2 separate regions of the Homo sapiens genome follow, and region 2 is linked to region 1. The links are contacts of gene promoters, found by promoter capture Hi-C in human tissues and cell types (Jung and others, 2019). All regions are on one chromosome and are shown on one strand. Each heading gives the region's core, a stretch centred on a gene start or on the middle of the fragment in contact. The rest is flanking DNA. Distances are from core to core; before and after follow the strand shown. Region 1 holds the start of CCDC125 (coiled-coil domain containing 125). Region 2 has its middle 12 kb from the start of LINC02198.

Region 1 (7,503 bases), core at 1,309-3,808:
ATCTTAAATACACATCTCCAACTGGATATTCCACCAGCAATCCAAGCACATCTTGCTCAAAAACAAATTCACCGCCGGGCACGGTGGCTCATGCCTGTAATCCCAGCACTTTGGAGGCTGAGGCGGGCGGATCATGAGGTCAGGAGTTCGAGACCAGCCTGGCCAACATAGTGAAACCCTGTCTCTGCTAAAAATACAAAAATTAGCTGGGCACGGTGGTGTGCACCTGTAGTCCCAGCTACTCGGGAGGCTGAGGCAGGAGAATCGCTTGAACCCGGGAGGCAGACATTGCAGTGAGCCGAGATTGCACCACTGCACTCCAGCCTGGGTGACAGAGCAAGACTCCATCTAAAAAAAAAAAATTCACTATCCTCCCAGCCCCCATTCCAGGTCTCCCTCTGAGTCCTCTATTTCTGCAAATGCATCAACTATGCTCCAAAACACTCAGGAGCAAAACTTTGGAATTGTTTTTTCCTCTTTGGTCTTCACATGCCTTCAGTTGCTAGGTCTTCTAGACCCAAAAAAATCTCCCCAAACTATGTCATTCTTTGCACATTAATTTCACTGCCCTGGTGGAACGTCTCTTTAATTCCCCAAGGCTAGCCTGATAATTTCCTAATTGGTCTACTTCAAGCCAACCTACATACTGCTGCCAAGTCAATAATATCCAAGTGCAAACCGAATGATGTCTCTCTCTTGCTGTAAAACATTCCATGGCTCCCATGGCATGTATAATTGTAGTCAATGTCACCCTGTTTTCCTTTTTAAAAAAAATGTAGGCTGGGCACAGTGGCTCACACATGTAATCCGAGCACTTTGGGAGGCTGAGGCGGGCAGATCACCTGAGGTCAGGAGTTTGTGACCAGCCTGGCCAACATGGTGAAACCCCGTCTCTACTAAAAATACAAAAATTAGCCAGGTATGGTGGCGGGCGCCTTTAATCCCAACTACTTGGGAGGCTAAGCAGGAGAATCGCTTGAACTTGGGAGGTGGAGGTTCCAGTGAGCTGAGACAGCACTATTGTCTGTCACCCACGCTGGAGTGCAATGGTGCGATCTCGGCTCACTGCAACCTAGACCTCCTGGGTTCAAGCGATTCTCCTGCCTCAGCCTCCCCAGTAGCGGAGATTACAGGCGCCCACCACCATGCCCGGCTAATATTTGTATTTTTGTAGAGACGGGGTTTCACCATGTTGGCCAGGCTGGTCTAGACCTCCAGACCTCAGGAGATCTGCTCACCGGTCTCCCAAAGTGCTGGAATTACAGGCGTGAGCCACTGCGCCCAGCCGAAACTCCGTTTCAAAAAAATAAAAATAAAAATAATGTATCCAACTGAAGTGTCACCCTGTTTTCTACAACAAAGCTACAGTTTTCACCTCCAGTTTCATCTGGCAGTACTCCCTGGATGTACTCTGCGCTTCCACGTAAGAGGAACTGCACTTGCTCCCAGGGCTCCTCCCTCAGCTCAGCTTGGTCACCTGCAAGCCTCTATTGGTGCCATTCTTCACCCCAGGAATGCTGTTTCTTCTCAGAGCCCCCTCAGTTCAGGACAGCACTCCCTCCAGTAGCCTTCCTGACTCCCTTGGACCAGATGTGATTTCTTCCACATCTGAGTCTTCCCAGTTCTGGGAGGTTTTACTGAATCTTTTTAATAGTGCTTACTTCCTACCTGACCTAGACTGACTGTATATTCCCTTATGCAGAGACTTTGTGTGTCTCGTTTGCTTATGCACAACATGTGTTCCAAAGATATTTGACAGAATCGAAAGAGAAAACCGATTCCTGCCCGGAAACCTTTGGACAGAAGAATCTACATTCAGTAGCCTGACAACTCTGCCTTAGCAAACAAGTTGGTCAAACATGCCTAACTCCATGACAAAGAGGAACTAACTTGAGCCCTCCCTGGTGAACAATGGCCTGCTGCACTTTGCTTTAGGATTTTGTTTCTTAACTTTTCATTTTAGAATAATTTTAGATGTACAGTAAATTGCAAAGATAGTACTAAGAATTCCTGTGTACCTTTTACCCAAATTCCTCTAATGTCAACATTTGTGTACAATTTGTCGAAATTAAGAAATTAACATGGGTACGTGCTATTAACTAAACCACAGCCTTTATTATTTTTTCCACTAATGTCTTTTTCTGTTTCAGGATCCAAACCAGGATACTGGCGCTATAGTTTTATAAGGCTCAAAATTAACAGAAGAGAAAAAAAGTAAAGCAGGTGGAGAGGCAGAGAGAGAAATAGGGTCTCTGAAATCTATTTCTTATTTTTTTCTTATCAGACGAGGCCATTAAACTGGCATTCAGGGAAAAGGATTTGGGCAGTTTGTCCACAACCTGCAGAGTTTCCACGAATCTGCGCATCCCGCCCCTGCCCTGGGTCCTCCCCACTCCCGGTTCCCACCTGCCAGGTCTGACCCCGGGTACCCTCTCAAGGTCCGTGGCGGGGACCGGAGCCCGGACTCCAGCTCAGCGAACAGCACCCTCCTACCGCCCCGGCGCCCCACTCAGCTCGCTCACCTGGCAAGTAGCCTCCTCTCCGTGCGCGTGCGCCGCTGCCGCCGCGCGTCCTCCGGGCCACCACGTGACCGCGTGGGCGCAGTCCCAGACAGGAAACGCCGGTGAGGTCGCCCTGGGCCATGGAGGCAGCTCGCGCTACTTTTTCGCGACCTCACTGTGTTCCTGTGTGCAACCTGATGTTAGCTCTGTCCACCTTCAGCTCCAAAGCCAACCACGGGTAACCAATATGCAAACAATGACATGAGATTTAGAAAAACAACAAGACGGGGCCTGTGTCAATACAGGTAAAATTTGGTGGTTCAAACATTGAGGTTCAGACCGGCGCGGGGTTTCACACCTGTAATCCCAGCTTTTGGGAGGCCAAGGCGGGAGGATCGCTTGAGGCCAGGAATTCGAGACCAGCATGGCCAACATAGTGAGACCCCGCTCTACAAAAAATTTAAAAAGTAGGGCTGGGCGCGGTGGCTCACGCCTGTAATCCCAGCACTTTAGGTGGCCGAGGCGGGTGGATCACGAGGTCAGGAGATTGAGACCATCCTGGCTAACACAGTGAAAACCCTTCTCTACTAAAAATACAAGAAATTAGCCGGGCGTGGTGGCGGGTGCCTGTAGTCCCAGCTGCGCAGGAGGCTGAGGCAGAATGGCGTGAACCCGGGAGGCGGAGCTTGCAGTGAGCCAAGATCGTGCCACTGCACTCCAGCCTGGGCAACAGAACGAGTCTCCGTCTCAAAAAAAAAAAATAATTAAAAAGTAGCGGGTGTGGTGGTGCGTACCTGTAGTCCCAGCTACTCAGGAGGCCGGGAGGCCGTCAGGTGGGAGGATCCCGTGAGCCTGGGAGATCCAGGCTACAGTGACCACTGCACTCCAGCCTGGGCGACGGAGTGGAGACCCTGTCTCAAAAAAGAAACAAACCAAAACCAAAATATTAAGTCTCTAGGAATCCTGTAAGAGAAGGGTAGATCGGGCCAGGTGCGGTGGCTCACGCCTGTTAACCCAGCACTTTGGGAGGCCAAGGTGGGTGGATCACCTGAGGTCAGAAGTTTGAGACCAGCCTGGCCAACATGGTGAAACCCCATCTCCACTAAAATACAAAATTTAGCCGGTCGTCACACGTCCGGAGGCCGAGCCGTCGCGTACCTAGGATGCCGCGTGGAAGCCGAAGCCGCACCTCCCGCATGGCCCCTCCGGCCAGCCAGGCCCCCTCAGATGAGAGCTGCACCCAGGCCAGTACCAGTCGTTCAGCCACCAGCAGCGGCACCCCCATCTGTAGTTGGCTCTTCTGCTGCTGCGCCCCGGCAGCCAGGTCTGATGGCCCAGATGGCAACCACTGCAGCTGGCGTGGCTGTGGGCTCTGCTGTGGGTCACGCCATTACTGGGGCTTTCAGGGGAGGAAGTAATGCTGAGCCTGCGAGGCCTGACATCACTTACCAGGAGCCTCAGGGAACCCAGCCGGCACAGCAGCAGCAGCCTTGCTTCTATGAGATCAGTTTCTGGAGTGTGCCCAGAACCAGGGTGACATCAAGCTCTGTGAGGGTTTCAATGAGGTGCTGAAACAGTGCCGACTTGCAAACGGATTGGCCTAATCAAGAAGTTCAACCTGGAGAGATGGAAAATCAGCTCTCATAACTAAGTTAATTTAGTATAAAAATAGAATTGATAGTGAGGGTATAAAGTGTAACCATGAGTTAAACCTCTCCTGTCATTCCTAGCTTCCTTGCTTCAGAATTGAAATGGAAGGGGGGTGTTCCTACTCTGTAGAATCTGTGACAGGGCAAATGTTTGTGTGGCCTCCTTAAACTAGCTGTTATGATTTTATTCTTTGTGAGTTAATTAGAATAAAGTCATTTTCTTCCAAAAAAAAAATTAGCCGGTCGTGGTGGCAGGTGCCTGTATTCCCAGCTGCTTGGCTGAGGCAGGAGAATCTCTTGAACCCGGCAAGCGGAGTTTGCCGTGAGCCGAGATCGCGCCACTGCACTCCAGCCTGGGTGACAGAGCAAGACTTTGTCTTAAAAAGAGGAGGTGGGGGTGGGAGAGAGAGAGAGAGAGAGAGAGAGAGGGAGAGGGAGGGAGAGAGAGAGAGAGAGAAATCTAAGCTGAGGTTCAGAGGTAGAGGCAGTCATTGAAAAACAGGCTTTTGCGGGCGGGCGGCGTCCACTGCAAGGATGCACTGTCTGGCTCCCTCTGGAGGCGGGAGCACGAAGGAGCGACCACGGAGCCCTTGAGCCTGTGGATGGTGGCCTCGGCGGCCGGCAGGCCATGCTGGAGTATCTGCCAACCTGATGAAGACGAGGACGTCCCACAAGTTCCGGACAGACGTGGCCGCCAAATTAATGAGGAAAGAAAAGGAGTCTTTTTTTTTTTTTTTAAAGACAGAGTTTTTCTCTTGTTGCCAGGCTGCAGTGCAGTGGCGAGATCTCAGCTCACTGCAACCTCTGCCTCCCGGGTTCAAGTGATTCTCCTGCCTTAGCCTCTGGAGTAGCTGAGATTACAGGTCTGCACCACCACGCTCAGCTAATTTTGTATTTTTAGTAGACAGGGGGTTTCTCCATGTTGGTCAGGCTGGTCTCGAACTCCTGACCTCAGGTGATTCGCCCGCCTTGGCCTCCCAAAGTGCCGGGATTACAGGCGTGAGCCACCGTGGCTGACCAAAGGTGTCTTAAGCTTAGAAAAATGATAAAAGATATAAAAGCTGCCTAGGAATGAAACTACTGGGTCATATGAGGCTCCTTCAGGGTGCGCAAAGTCCTGGAAACCAGCATGCAGATAAGGAAAGAAAGAGACCATCAGTCCATGCAGTTGTCAGCTGGCTGGGAGCTGAGGAGAGTCACTTGTGGAGGCACCTGATCTTTGTCCCCCACGTCCCAGACAAGCCCATATCTCACTTTCAGAACTAAGATGCTTGGGAAACCAAGACAAGGAACTGTGTATTGCAAACAGCATTACCCTAGAGAAGAAGTGGCAGGAGATGACCTACAAAAAAATGGAGCAATAGCCTAGAGCAAGAAACAGAACAAAAGAGAACTGAGTCACCTCCTGGAAGGTCACACAAGACAAGCACATATTCAGGGGCCTCCTAACAGACTAGACTTCCAGCATCCTCAGTTGGGGCTAGACACTTTTTACATAGACATTCAATACTAGAGAACTCAGGGACATCTGATTTATACCATGAAATACATACACAGCAGATGTGTGCCTGTGGAGCAGAATTCTGGAAAAGCTCACAGCCCAGAACATAATGCAGACTCCCCCAGCCACAGCACCTTCCAATCCTGAGAAGAGTGCTGATTCTCCATCTGAGCACCCATTCTCCTGCAACATCAGGGGAGAGGAGTTCACCTAAGGATCAGACCAGTATCTCCAAACCCAGCTCCCCACCTCTGCCTGTTGGTGGCACTTGTGGGTGAAGGGGAGATGGTATGAAAAGACTCACAACAGGAGTCACCTGAACAAGGTGGGGCTTGGTGGAAACTGACATTTGTTCCTGTTGGAGGCAAATGTGGAATTTGGCATCTTGCCTTAGCAACAGACACATGAAATTCTCCAGTGCCCAGGACTTTTGACAGTGACTTCAAAGCACAGCTGGGAGACCCATGTGGCCCAGGCTCTACCCAGGCAGGAGCTCAGCTTCACTCACAGCAGGATTCCTAGTGCCAAGAACACCATGGGTGCATAGCAGGTGATCAAAATAATTGTATGTGGCTGAATCAGTGAGAGGTAAGAGAGAGGACTTGAGGCCGGGCACGGTGGCTCATGACTGTAATCCCAGCACTTTGGGAGGCTGAGGTGGGTGAATCACAAGGTCATGAGATCAAGACCATCCTGGCTAACACAGTGAAACCCCATCTCTACTAAAAACACAAAACATTAGTCGGGCGTGGTGGCACGCACCTGTAATCCCAGCTACTCGGGAGGCTGAGGCAAGAGAATCGCTGGAAGTCGGGAGACGGCGGTTGCATTGAGCTGAGACTGCACCACTGCACTCCAGCCTGGGCCACAGTGCGAGACTCCGTCTCAAAAAAAAAAAAAGAGAGAGGACTTGATCCTAGCGGCAAACTAAGAGACCTCATTAAAACCTAACATGTGAGGCCCAGCATGGTGACTCATACCTGTAATCCCAGCACTTTGGGAGGCTGAGGCTGGAAGATTGCTTGAGCCCAGGAGTTCAAGACCAGCCTGGGCAACATAGTAAGACCCTGTCTCTTAAAAAAAATTGGATGAGCATAGTTATAGTCCTAGCTGCTTGGGAGGCTAAGGCAGGAGGACTGCTGGAGCCCAGGAGTTTGAGGTTAGAGTGAGCTATGATTGCACCACTGCAATCCAGCCTGGGCAATGCAGTGAGCCCTGTCTCTCTCTACAAAAATCATATATATATATATAATATATACATAATATATATAATATATACATTATATATATAATATATATTTAGTGTGTGTATGTGTGTGTGATATCAGAAAAAAAAACTATTCATCGTGAAGTAAAAAAGAGCCTGACTTTGGAGGTATATAAGCATGGCATTGGGTTCAAATCAAGCTCTGACAATTACCAAGCTCAGCCTCAGCGTCTCTACCTGTGAAATTGGCTTGATTCAGTACCTACCACACAGGGCTGCTATATGAATTGTTTGTGAAATATTTAGAATGGTGCCTGACACATGGTTCACAGTAAGAAACAACTATTGCTATTATTAAGTGCTTTGCACTTTGGTTTTCACAGAGCTAATGGTTTTCACAGAGCTAACAATTTTTACTGTCTAGCTTTGTGTCTTTGAAAGATTTTTGAGGTCTAAGAATGCCGTTTTAAAACCTCTCAACACTCCTAGAAGAGGTCACACTTTGAGCTTCAATAACTGCCTTTTTTTTTTTTTTTGAGACGGAGTTTCGCTCTTTTGCCCAAGCTGGAGTGAAATGGCGCGATCTCGACCCACTGAATCCTCAGCCCCCTGAATCCTCAGCCCCCTGGGTTCAAGAAATTCTCC
Region 2 (7,503 bases), core at 1,834-4,333, 290 kb before region 1:
TGAAATAATTATACAACTCACCATAATGTAGAATCAGTGGGAGCCCTGAGCTTGTTTTCCTGCAACGAGATGGTCCCATCTGGGTGTGATGGGAGACAGTGACAGATCATCAGGCATTCTCATAAGGAGCACACAACCTAGATGTCTCGCATGCATGTTTCACAATAGGGCTCGCGCTCCTATGAGAATCTAATGCCACCACTGATCTGACAGGAGGTGGAGCTCAGGAGGTAATGTGTGCAATGGCGAGCGGCTATAGGTACATACAGATGAAGCTTTGCCTGCTCGCCAGACACTCACAACCTGCTGTCCAGCCAGTTCCTAAATTAGCTTATTTCCACCATACCAATCCATGGCCCAGGGACTGGAGACCCGTGCCCTATGAGGAACTGTTACTATGAATTAGGCTTAGTCTTTTGTTTTGTTTTGTTTTGTTTTTTTTGAGACAGAGTTTCAGTCTGTCACCCAGGCTGGAGTGCAGTGGCGCAATCTTGGCTCTCTGCAAGCTCTGCCTCCCCTCCCAGGTTCACACCATTCTCCTGCCTCAGCCTCCAGAGTAGCTGGGACTACAGGCGCCTGCCACCAAGCCCGGCTGATTTTTTGCATTTTTAGTAGAGACAGGGTTTCACTGTGTTAGCCAGGATGGTCTCGATCTCCTGACCTCGTGATCCACCTGCCTTGGCCTCCCAAAGTGCTGGGATTACAGTCATGAGCCACCGCACTTGGCCTAGGCTTAGTCTTTCAGCCTGTATTTTGCTGCATATATACCTATCTGCAAACAAAAGATACTTTTCTTTGTGTGTTAATTTCTACCCAACTTGGAAAAAATAGTAGCATCTAGTATACATCTTTCTGCAACTTGCTTTTTAAAAAAAAAAAAAACCTCATTGCCTCCTAATATATATTGATTGAGTTCATTCATTTCAACCACTTTGCATCATTTCATCATATAAACATACCTTGATTATTTATACATTCCCCTTTTGATGGGCATTAGCTTATTTCCAATTTTCATATTTTGCAAGCAGTGCCATAATATACAGCCTTTTCCATGTCTCCTAGTGCATATGTGCAAAAAGTTCTAGACCAATGAGTACCTAGAATTGGAATTGTTGGATCCTGTGGCATGCTTACTTTCAACTTTACAAGATATTGCCAAATTATTTTCCAAAGTGGTTGCACCATCTAGGCACAGTGGTTCACACCTGTAATCCCAGTGCTTTGGGAGGACAAGGTGGGATGATCACTTGAGGCTGGGAGTTTGAGACTTGCCTGGGATACATAGCAAGATCCCATCTCAATTTTAAAAATAATAAAAATATAAAATATATATAAATAAACAAAGTGGATGTATTAATTTACACTTGTACCCACTCCCCAAAGACTATTCTATGACTTTTTTTACTTTTGCCCTTATAATGCATATGAAGTGCTATCTTGTTTTAGTTTGCATTTTCCAGATTACTAATGAGGTTGTGCATCTTTTCATATACATTTTCCATCTGTGACTTGTCTATTTATACCCTTTGCCCATTTTTCTGCTTTATTTTTTGTCTGTTCCATATTGATTTGTAGGAGTTCCTTATATATTCTAGAAATTATTCCTGTGTTTCATATACCTGTTTTTTGTCCAACAGTTTGGAAACCAAAATATCACTAATCATTTCTGGAATATAGCATTCAGTTACATAGGCATTAATATCAGAAAAAATACCACTTGGTTTTCTAACCTAAAAAAATTTATAAAATAGTTTCTATCTTTGACTCTGATACACCAAAAATTTTACAAAGGGTCAGTTACTGGACCATCCAAGAATAGTTTATCACGTGGTCCAAAAAAAACTTGATACAATAGAAGAACTTTCTCTCACACTTGTTTTAAACTTCCTGTATCAGTCCAGTTCTCTCCACCTCAAGGAACAAAAACAGATGGCACACACGAATTAGGAAAATTGGAGGAGGTTTTATTTACAGAGGGACTAATTACAAAGGGGTGAGTGGGGATAGCAGAGCCATAAGAGATAGTGGCAGTGGAACTGTATAGGAATAGGGTAAAAGAGAGCTTGCCAGAACCCAAAAAGAGAATGGCATAGAGCAGGCCACCTAGACAAGAGCAGTGACATTCTGTTGAGAGACTCAGCAACTTGTGTCAACCTCGCAGGAAGGAACCAAGGAAATATATGCCCTGACCCCATGCTCCTTTCTCTCTCCCTCCCATCTCCTGCGGAAAGCCAGAAGGCATAGGTGCCTTTGCTGTGATCCACACAGGACAGCCTCCCAGAACAGAAAATTATGGATAAAGGTGGAAAATGAATCTAAAAGGTCAAATTGAAGAAATCCAGCAAGCTTGCCTAGCCAAATAACTTCAGATTCTATACCACACAAAAGAAAGGCAGATAAACTTTAAATGTAAAGAGTGACTTAAAGCACTTTTCTGGGCACAGTGGCTCACCCCTGTAATCCCAGCACTTTGGAAGGCTGAGGCGTATGGATCACCTGAAGTCAGGAGTTTGAGATCAGCCTGGCCAACATGGTGAAACCTCGTCTCTACCAAAAATACAAAAACTATCCCAGCATGGCGGTTCATGCTACTTAGGAGGCTGAGGCAGGAGAATCACTTGAACTCGAGAGGCGGAGGTTGCAGTGAGCCAGGATCATGCCACTGCACTCCAGCCTGGGCAATAGAGCGAGACTGCATCTCAAAAAGAAATTTTTTAAAAAGAGCACTTTCTGGAATTATACAAGAGTAGTGAAAGATGGATAATAGAGGCAGATACCACTTTATCTCCTATTTTCTATCTTTCATTTCTGCCAAGGAGAAAGATTACTGGCCAGAAAATAATACAACAAGGATTAAGATAAAAGATCTAAAAATCCAAACTGGTGGAAAAATCATAAGAAAGCATCTGGGTTCTCTACATCGGTGCAAACCTCCTGGCCCCAACAAACTACATCCTAGCCTATACCTAGAAGAGATTGGTGACAAAATGAGCTGCTGTTCGTTATCACAAAGAATTCTAGAAACTGGGGCAGGAATCAATAGTGCAATTCTCAGGCAGGTTGTCTAACACCACCTTGAACATGGAGAGAAGAAAGGGGAGTATTTAATTGTGCATAAGATTCAGATAGGGAAAGTCATGACTAATGAATTAACAGGACTTCTGTTTTTATCCAAACTCTGCCAGACTGACAAATCAGAAGAAGCTGTCAATACGCAGCTTCACCATTTGAACTCAGCATTTGACAGAGACTTTTACCTTGTGAACAAGACAGAAGAATGTGGCCCAGATGATCACAAAGATAGGTGCTAATTATGAATCAATGTCAGCCCAGAGTTTCTAGTGTAAAGGAATTCTGTTTGCAGACTTGTCCTGTTCATTGAGTAAATAGTTGAGTGTACAGTTGGCTTGCTAATGCACTTCTCTGACTGCTGGGAAAGGTAGCCAATATATTTAATATGGCAGAGTGAAGATCCAAAGGCTCTAACGATAAGCCAAACTTAATAAAAATTTTAACTGAAATAAATGTAAAGCCCTACGCTTACATTTTTTTCGTGCATAAGAACAGAATCAGGTCCAGGCGCGGTGGCTCACACCTGTAATCCCAGCACTTTGAGAGGCCGAGGTGGGCGGATCACCTGAGGACGGGAGTTCAAGACCGCCTGACCAACATGGAGAAACCCCGTCTCTACTAAAAATACAAAAAAAAAAATTAGCCGGGCATGGTGGCGCATGCCTTTAATCCCGGCTACTCGGGAGGCTGAGGCAGGAGAATCGCTTGAACCCGGGAGGCGGAGGTTGTGGTGAGCCGAGATTGCACCATTGCACTCCAGCCTGGGCAACAAGAGTGGAAACTCCGTCTCAAAAAAAAAAGAACAGAATCAGAAAAACATGACTAGGCCCCTAATTAAACATGGTGGGGTTTATTTCTTTCTTGTTTTATTTCTTCTGTCCTCCCAAACCTATCAAAATGATAATAGATTAATTTTTGACAAAAAGTAAAACTCAAAAAAAAAAGAATGAGAGAGGAGAAATAGAAGACAGGAGATATGAGCAATAATTTGAAACACAGAAAGTGCATAGTAACTGATTTAGCAGAGCCTACCGTCAATGGGTCTGCAAAGAAGAATTCCAATGAAAGTGAAACCAATTCACTCCCAAGAACCCTGGAAAGACCTAGCACTAGGTTCTGTCCGGGTGCTGCAGAAAGGAGTGGTGAAGCACTGAGTGAAAAGTAATAGTGTGTGAAAGTATTCATATTAATAGAATGAGCTGCTTAGTGAGGGTGTGTTTTCATTCACTGAAGATGTTGGAGCAGAATTAAACACTAATCAAATATGTTATAAAAGTGATTCAAATGTTGGACACAAACTTGACTCCAATGACTTTTAAAGCCCCATCACTCTGAAATCCTATGATTCTAGAATTTATAGTTACTTACAAAATTGTGTAGACAGGACTTCAATAGGTTTTAGGTACTTCCGGATGTATTTTTATCAGCGTCCAATAGGTGGCGCTGTGGTATAAGATGAGACTCAGCAAATGGCTGCCCTTACTTGATTCTCCTGTGCCCTACCGAGTGTCTAATAACAAGTAACAGCTAGAATGTTTGATTTTTTTTAATCGGAAATCTAAACCCAGAGATTCAGAACACCTAGGTTTCATAGTTCTTGTGGCGCATGAGCCTTTGTGTGATTTAGTTTGTCATCCTTCTCTGTCCTTCCGTCTTATTCCTATCCAAGTTGTGGCACTTCAATGTATTTGTCGTTCTCGGACAGCAAAGTAAGTCAAACGCGAAACAACTCCCCCTTCACATCCCGGATGCCCTGCCTCCATTGCGTGTACCCTTTATCTCAGGGCTCTGAGTGTGTGGGGCTCTACAAGCGTTATCTCCCTTGATTTAAAAAATAATAATAAATAAAAACAAGACAAAACAAAGAACTTACTGTTCCAGCACAAGTTTACATCAGTATCGATCAGGAATACGATTGTCTCCGGCTGTCCTCCCTTTTCTGCTGATTAGGAGATTCATGCTTCGCTTCTTTGTTTTTGTTGTTTTTGTTTTCGTTTTGATTTATTAAATGAATTCCTTCATATCATAGCCAAGTCCAATACACTTTGCTTCCTAAAAGCTAATTACTTAATATCTAGCTCTTATTGACAAATTTTGCCACTCATCAAAGTTGTAAAACTTGGTTTCTTCATTTCCCTTTATCTGCTTCAGATTTACAAGGTCCCTGGGGAATTTCTGCTTCTCATCAAGGAATGTCTCCATCAACTCCATATATTCAGGTAACTCTGCTCCCACATTGAAGACTCAAATCCAGGAAAATTTCCTAACATGAGGCATCTGTAAAGCTGTCCAATTCACCCTCTTGGCATAACCTGTCCCGCAGGGTTTTTCAACTTAATGATTTTTTTTTTCATTTTGGCTAAATGCCATTAGTCCACCCAGAAAGCAAGACTGGCCTTTTTGTTTGTTTGTTTTTAACGGAGGTTTCACTCTTGTTGCCCAGGCTGGAGTGCAGTGGCGCGATCTCAGCTCACTGCAACCTCCGCCTTCCAGGTTCAAGCAATTCTCCTCCCTCAGCCTCCCAAGTAGTTGAGATTACAGGCACGTGCCACCACTCACAGCCAATTTTTGTATTTTTATTAAAGACGGGGTTTCACCATGTTGCATGTTGGCCAGGCTGGTCTCAAACTCCTGACCTCAAGTGATATGCCTGCCTCAGCCTCCCAAAGTGCTGGGATTACAGACGTGAGCCATTGCACCGGCCAAGGCTGCCTTTTTTAAATACTTGAGTCTAGTCTAACTGACAAGAAATGTTAGTGAGTTGAGCTGGGGGGGAAAAGGCCCATACTCACAATGCAAAACAGTAACAAACCCCAAACAACAACAGCAACAACAACAAAAAACCAGCATTCTTTCCATGACCAGATTTTCAATAGTAATTTCATCTTTGCACCTTGTGTAAGTACACATCCTAGCAGCCTTGCTCAGTTACATATCTGATTGACTCCTGTTGTTTTACTTGGTTTTCTAAAATGTCCTCTGTACTAATCTGATCTGAACTCATATTTTCCATCAGTTCTATACCAACTTTCTAGACTTGATCTTTCTGTTGTTCTCTGGAAAGAACAGAAGTATTTAGAGCAGTTAATAAGCACTTGTGGAAACCTCTCTGAGTTGTTTGTCTCACAGAAGGAAGAGTTACACCTGGCTAATTAGTCCTCCAACTACATCGTTTCTGTAGTTTCAAAACGTTCTCACATTTCCAACATCAGTGGTGTAAGTGAACACCCACCCACCCCAAATCACAAAATAAAAAACTTTCAAAGGAATGTTATGCATTTGTCATACAGATTCTCATATGTTTATTTTAAATTTATTATGTTCATAACATATTTAGTCTGTTAAGTAGCTTATAATGTTGGGTTGGAAGTAGTGTTCTTAGTGGTCCTTGTAATCTGCTATCAGGCAAATTGCAGAGCCTATTGAAAAGGAAAGATTTTCAACTTTGTGGGTTCGAATTCTACATACAAGCCCCTACTCAAGCCGCATTCATTTATGTTGTGATGAAGCTGTGTACTGGGAGACCCTGGAACGGCCCAATGGGTTCACCTTTCCCGCTGCCTAGACAGAGCGAATTTATCAAGACAGGGGAATTGCAGTAGAGAAAGAGTAATTCACACAGAGCTGGCTGTGCAGGACACCAGAGTTTTATTATTACTCAAATCAGTCGCCCTGAGCATTCAGGTATCAGAGTTTTTAAGGACAACTTAGTGAGTTGCGGGAAGCCAGTGAGCCAGGAGTGCTGATTGGTTAGGTAGGAGATGAAATCATAGGGAACTGAAGCTGTCCTCTTGCGCTGAGTCAGTTCCTGGGTGGGGGCCACAAGATCAGATGAGCCAGTTTATCGATCTCGGTGGTTCCAGCTGATCCATCAAGTGCGGGTCTGCAAAATGTCTCAAGCACTGATCTTAGGATCAGTTGAGGGAGGATCAGAATCTTGTAGCCTCCAGCTGCATGACTCCAAAACCATAATTTCTAATCTTGTGGCTAATTTCTTAGTCCTACAGAGGCAGTCTAGTCCCCACACAAGAAAGAGTTTTGTTTTGGGAAAGGGCTATTATTGTCTTTGTTTTAAACTATAAGTTCCTCCCAAAGTTAGTTCGGCCTATGCCCAGGAGGGAGAAAGGACAGCTTAAAGGTTAGAACCAAGATAGAGCCAGTTAGATCTCTTTCACTGTCTGTCATAATTTTGCAAAGGCAGTTTCAACCCTAAGGATGAGGCACACCAGTGTCTCTGTAACTCAAGCATCTTAAACATAGATGTGGTTTGCCTCCCACCAGGACAAAGGAGAAGCTTTCTAAAGCTGATGAAAGAGCTGCTCAAGAGAGCATACAAGCGCAGTGGCTCATGCCTGTAATCCCAGCACTTTGGGAGGCCGAGGTGAGCAGATCACTTGAGGTCAGGAGTTTGAGACCAGCCTGGCCAACATG

The links. Contacts are between HindIII fragments. The study calls those that stand out against the background at their distance.
Region 2: a contact is called between a fragment that was not itself captured here and the fragment with the promoter of CCDC125 in region 1, in 1 of the 25 tissues and cell types used here (hippocampus).

Annotation. Positions count from the first base shown.
Region 1 is chr5:69,330,243-69,337,745 of GRCh38, forward strand. It overlaps CCDC125 (coiled-coil domain containing 125), which reads right to left and starts at 2,559. Exons shown (of 12, transcript NM_176816.5): 1 at 2,407-2,559. It also overlaps the pseudogene CHCHD2P2. RefSeq lists a silencer at 5,800-6,094. The HindIII fragment of the contact is 34,363 bases long and covers 1-7,503 here.
Region 2 is chr5:69,038,498-69,046,000 of GRCh38, forward strand. No RefSeq gene overlaps it. Among named protein-coding and RNA genes, the nearest start is that of LINC02198, 12 kb to the left of the region's middle. The HindIII fragment of the contact is 3,546 bases long and covers 1,311-4,856 here.